Linked DNA regions of Homo sapiens: region 2 is linked to region 1. The links are contacts of gene promoters, found by promoter capture Hi-C in human tissues and cell types (Jung and others, 2019). All regions are on one chromosome and are shown on one strand. The core of a region is centred on a gene start or on the middle of the fragment in contact, and the rest is flanking DNA. Distances in the headings are between cores, read along the strand shown.

What was found. Contacts are between HindIII fragments. The study calls those that stand out against the background at their distance.
Region 2: the fragment with the promoter of DBT here is called in contact with a fragment that was not itself captured in region 1 in 1 of the 25 tissues and cell types used here (hippocampus).

What each region holds. Positions count from the first base shown.
Region 1 is chr1:99,840,766-99,843,921 of GRCh38, forward strand. It overlaps the pseudogene RPL39P9. Among named protein-coding and RNA genes, the nearest start is that of AGL, 8.0 kb to the right of the region's middle. The HindIII fragment of the contact is 7,409 bases long and covers 1-3,156 here.
Region 2 is chr1:100,248,248-100,251,232 of GRCh38, forward strand. DBT (dihydrolipoamide branched chain transacylase E2) reads right to left here and starts at 1,587. Exons shown (of 11, transcript NM_001918.5): 1 at 1,523-1,587. The coding sequence starts at 1,573. RefSeq lists enhancers at 756-1,315, 1,316-1,875, 1,477-1,596 and a silencer at 1,707-1,806. The HindIII fragment of the contact is 17,632 bases long and covers 1-2,985 here.

The DNA.
Region 1 (3,156 bases), core at 75-2,574:
ATTAACAGATGACTAAATGTGTGTGTACACAAAATGGAATACTAGACAGCCTTAAAAAAGTAATCCTAGGCCAGGCATGGTGGCTCATGCCTGTAATCCCAGCACTTTGAGAGGCCCAGGTAGGTGGGAGGATTGCTGGAGTCCAGGAGTTCGAGACAGGCCTGGGCAACATTATGAGAACTCGTCTCAACAAGATAAATAGATAAAAATAAACAAAATTAGCTAGGCATGGTGGCATGAGCCTATAGTCCCAGCTATTCGGGAGGCTGAGATGGGAGGATCACTTGAGCCTGGAAGGATGAGGCTTCAGTGAGTCAAAATCATGCCACTGCACTCCACCGTAGGCAACAAAGTGAGATCCTGTCAAAAAAAAAAAAGAAAGAAAGAGAAAAGAAATACTATCACATGCTACAACATGGATGAACCTCAATATTTTGCTAAGTGAAATAAATCAGTAACAAAAACTACTGTATGGTTTTATTATATGAGGTACCTAGAGTCATCAACATCATAGAGACAGAAAGGAGTAGCTGCCAGGAATTTGGAAGGGGGGAATGGTGCATTATTGTTTCTGATATAATGAAGTTAGTATTTCTAAAGATATTAATGTACTTTCTTATTTGCCTTTGCAATATGCAAGACTTTCTCCATTCAGCCTAAGACACCCATCTGCCTCTGTAGGAGATTTGGATTGTAATAGAATAAATGCATAGAGGAAGGAGAGGTGATGTTTAACACCTGACATTCAAAATAGGATTTTGCAGCAAGACTATGGGCAGTTTGAGAAACAAAAAAATTTCTAAGGGAAACCCATTCTCTTAAGAAAGGGTTTGAAAGATTGTAAAGATGAGAAAACCTAAAGAAAAGAGGAGGCGAAGGAAACGGTCTGATGTATCATGATAGAAGCAAGTCCAATAGGTTGAGGGGATTACTAGATTATAAATTCCATGCAGGCAAGGATTTTTGTGTGTTTTGTTCATTACTGTATCCCCAGTGCATAGAACAGTGCTTAGTACACAGCAAACACAGTGTTTACTGAATGCACACAGGGCTTTTTGTTCTGCTCCCTGTTCTGAACTCTGGTTGTAGAATGCTATACTAGGCAAAAAGGGTGCGGGGGTTGGGGGGGGTCCAAAAAGAGGGATCCTAGAATGATTAAGAGGGTAAAGCAAGATCACTTACATATAGGACCTGGGTTTCAGCTCCAGTACACATTTTATAGATCCACCATGACAGAGTTGAGGTGATTCCAGCAAAGCCTTATCAAATGGATGTCTTGGGCCTTGGACCAGGCAGAGAACATTTTAGGTACTCAGAGAGGGGTCTGTAGTGAAAGTAGGATCAAGAAAGGCTGAGACAGTAGGGGAGGAGGATGCCTTTAGACTCTGGCCAAGCCAAGAAAGAATAGACAGGAAGTTATCAGCTACAGACATCAATAGTTTGTGCCAACAGGATTACCAGGAACAGGACTAGACAGATACACATTAGGTGATGCCAGCCCCTGCACAAGAACCAGTTCAAGGTCACAGAGTTCAACTCCCCCAGTGCAACCAGTTCATGTGAGATCCTGCTCCTTATACTAGACATCTCTTAGAACAAAGTAGAGAGAGAAAGGGGCGTCGAAACAATAGAACAATGATTTCAAAGAGACTGGGTTAAAGAGATTATTTAAATAATTGGCTCAGAATTAGTTTCCAACCAGATTAGACTAAAATTATTTTTGTTTTCCCACACCTGCCTAGCAGTTAGGAAACGGTAAAGGAAATTGGAGAAGCTTTTAAGAATAAAATATACTCTCTTCCTTTCTCTGCCATCGAGGTGTGTGCTTGACTCTGCTTCTTGCCATGTCTTCTCACAAGACTTTCAGGATTAAGCATTTCGTGGTCAAGAAACAAAAGCAAAATCATCCCATCCCCCAGTGGATCCAGATGAAAACTGGTAATAAAATCAGGTAGAACTCCAAAAGGAGACATTGGAGAAGAATCAAGCTGGGTCTGTACGGAATTACACATGAGATGGCACACATATTTATGCTGTGTCAAGGTCACAACCATCTTACCATATCAAGCTGAAAATGTCACCACTATCTGGACAGTTGGACATGTTTTATTGTGAATATATATTTTTTTCTCTGTGTATGTGCTGTTGGTGCACTGGTAGGCTGGATTCAGTAATAAATATGTGAGACCTTTCATTTCAAACAAACAAAAAGAATAAAATATACGTTTCTTAATATATCTAAGTAGTGTAAATAATTTTGTAATTCTGTTTTCCAGAGACAGAAAACGCAGCCCTGTCTGAAGAAATCTAGTGGGATAATGAGTTATTACACAACATGGCACAACATAGCCACAGCAAAGGAGCTCCAGGGAGCACCTAACCTAGACCCATGGGAGGGAGGGCACGGCAGGCAGAGACTTCTTGAAGGAGATATCTAAGATGATAGAGTCTTAGATTAGCGAGAATATCCTAGAATCAAGAAAACAGACTCACTGTTGGCATAGCCATATATGAAGCCAACAACATTCCAATTCAATTTATAAAATCTTATTGATTACCAGGCCATGGACGTAGCATCACTGCCTCAGATGTAGCATTACCGAACAGAATCACTGAGCATGCAATTGAAGTCACATTCCTTCACTTGCTCACTATGTGATCTTAAACAAGTTACTTAACTTTGGGTACTCAGTTTCCTTGTCTTTATAGTGGGGGTAATAATAGTGTTGTTCTGGAAATTGAGTTAACTTAGAACAGTACCTGGCACCTCTTAAAAGCTCATTAATATTAGTTGTTACCATTTATAGAGCATGTATTATTTTCAAAACATTTCAGACATTTTATTTTTGTGATCCTTGGTAGATAAATAACAGCTGAGGAATTAGTGCCTAAAAGAGGTTAAATGACTTATATTATGTTTGATGAAAATATTTTTCCCTAATTCCTGTTTTCTTTGAAGAGAGCGTGTCCCAAAACAATATCTTGGATTTTCTTTGCCCTTTAACTTGCTCCATTCCTGAGGAGGAAAAGTGATTTCTCTGGTTGGGAAATTGGGGAAGAATAACTGTGAGCTTGGCTCACCTCTATCCCTCTTCCTTTTTAGGAGTGACCATGAAGTGGCCAAGCACGATTCTTCCAGTCCTTCTGTGACTGGGA
Region 2 (2,985 bases), core at 337-2,836, 410 kb after region 1:
TTGTATACAGTAGGAAAAGGACAAATGAACTACTAGGGAAATGACGACATTGATAATCATAAGCCACTTAATGTGAGCTGACATCTAATTGGGGATGCTCTGTATGCATGGATACTTAATTTCCTATTTATTGGTTGGGTTTTTAATTGCAGCTGGAAAACATCACGTACATATGAAACTGGAGATTTCCAGGACAGTAGGATATATGGGTTTGGAGTAGACCTGGTTGGAAGACTGGGGAACTTTAGGACTCATCAGCATAGATGGTAACTAAAGCCAAAGAGTGGATGGGATAACCCAGAAAGTGGGAAAAGTGCAGAGGGCCAAAGTCAGAGCCCTTTAGAAAAAGCAATATTTAAAAGGCGGGAAGGGAAACAGGATATTGGGATGAAGTGGCCAAAGATGAAGAAAGAATAATATTGGGAAACTGGTGTCACAGAAAACAAGAATGGAAAGCTCTAGAAAGAAGAGAGACCAATATGTGTTAAGTGTTGCTGAGAAGAGCTCTCTTCTCCTGGTTATCTCTTACTTATCCTTCTTACATCTCAAGTCATACAGTATCCTCTGGGAACTCCTCTGACCCCCAAGTCCACCATAGGTGTCCACTCCTGTGTGTTCCTGTAGTTCTAGGCACTTGTCCCATCACAGTACCTCTCATGCTGGGTTGTAATTTCTATCTGTCTCCCTCTCCTTTGTCCTCCACCACAAGGTTGTAATCTCTTGAGAAGGAAGATATGATGTCTATTTCATATTTGTATCTCCAGTGCCTAACACAGCACTGGTACATAGCAGGCTCTTGAAAGTTTTTGTAAGATCGGGGTCACCAAGGCAGGAGCATCTAGGGAAAGGGAGAAGAGGCAGGAAGAAGAAACACTAAGCAAATAGGGGTAACAAGTATCATTACCGGTATGTGTCAGTGCTTGGTGCTAAGACTGGGAGAAAGAGAAGGAAGTGCAGGGGAGATGGTGATGGGTCACAGCCTTGGTGACAAAAGGGTAGGAATGATATGTGGTGCGGACATAGAAGTACAAGGCAAAAGAGTGACGCCGAGCTGCTCAGTTCTTCGGAAGCAGGGACCCCTGCTGATATTCTATAACTTGAACGGCCTCTTCCTCTACACACTGTAGATTCCTTGAGGGTAGGGGTCGTGTTACCAGTGTTTGGCATACTGTGGGTACGCAATAAATGCTAAACGAATATATCTCTGGATCCACAGCGCCTATCACAATGCCTGGGCACCTGGAAGGCGCTCAATAAAACGCTAGCTGGGCCTCGGGGTACAGATGGAGCAGGACGGCTGAGTCGCTGCAGAAGCGCTTCCAGGTAAGGGGAGGGAGTGGGTTTCCACTCCAGACTGGTCGACTCGCTCCGTTCTCTGCCCTTTATTTTGCATGCATCCCTTCACCTCTCCATCACGCGTGCCCTGGACGCCTGGCACCGGAGGAGAAAGTAAAACACCACTCCTGGATGACTCCGGACAAATCACTCCTTCCCGGCCTCAGATCTGCCCAAACGTGCTTACCAGCTTCCCCGCATTCCTGCTCCAGGTTCTCAGCATACGGACTGCAGCCATCTTACCCCGGAAATGACAACAGTGCCGCAAACTGGAGAGACTCTCCTCGGCGCGGCCTATCAGGAGATGGGAAACGCGCCTCCCCCTGGGCGACCAATAGGGAGGGAAGAAACGAGCCTCCCACCCAACAGCCAACCAAGGAGTAGGGCGGAGCCTGAGCTAAACCCTAGGATCTGGGACCCAGCGGGGAGTGAAAAGAGCCTGGGGGACGGAGGCGGGGCAGAGGGCAGCCCAAATTTAACACTGCTGTGTAAATACAGATGCACCAAAGATAATCTTTTTAGTGTATGTGATGGGGAAAATAGAGAGTGTTAAGGAAACACAAAGAAAGGTACTTACCTCAAGAAAGTTATGTTGCAGTAGGACCTGAGCGATGAGTTGGAAAACATTTCCCCGTCTTCATCTTGTAGTGTAGCCGCCCCAAATACAGAAAATAGAATATTTCTATACGTTGTAGCAAGGCTCTGGACAACTAGTTGTTTCACAAGTCCATACAGCAGTACTTCCCAATGACTGCCTTTTTTACTCCCATTTATGTTTTTGATTACCAAAATTGGCTAATCAATTTTTTTCATGAAAGATGAACATTACCTAATGTCTAAAATAAACATGTTATCATCTTTCTTTTTACAGACTGCTATCAGATGCAGCTAACTAGCATATGCAATACATGTCACAGACACATGATCTTGATTTAGTTGTCTCTTAAAGAAATGTCAAATTCAGGTCAAGTGGAACTGGTAAAGAACAGATCAGAGCTTTCTTTTAAAAGGCAATCTTCCTCAGAGCAACTAGGAAACCAATTCCTGGAAATGTCCAGGATGACATTAGTCTGTTATTGCTTCTTACGTGGGAATGAAAATCTGCACAGATGTCTAAGGAATTACAGAGAAAAAAAACTGGAACAAATACATTTTAAATGCTCAACATTGAAGATTAGTGGTTATGAAACAAAATCTCAGGTATTTCACAACTTCATTGTTTAATATGACCCAAACACTTTTCCCCCTCATTTGCCATTTTATGTATTACACATCTACACACAAAAAATCAATGCAAACAATAAATCTTATTATCTTTTTTGTTTGTTTGTTTGTTTGGTAGAGATAGGGTCTCTTGGGCCAGGCGTGGTGGCTCCTGCCCATAATTCCAGCACTTTGGGAGGCTGAGGCAGGCAAATGGCTTGAGCTCAGAAGTTCAAGATGGGATCTCTCTATGTTGCCCAGGCTGGTCTCAAAGTCCTGGTCTCAAACTGCGATCTTCCCATTTCAGCCTCCCAAAGTCCTAGGATTACAGGCATGAGCCACTGGGTCCGGCCTAAATAGCTATCTTTCTCAGAAAATCTAGAGTAGTCAAAAGAATTTCAAGTTTTTACATTTCCTTAAAAATGTTTATAGACATTATTAATATAT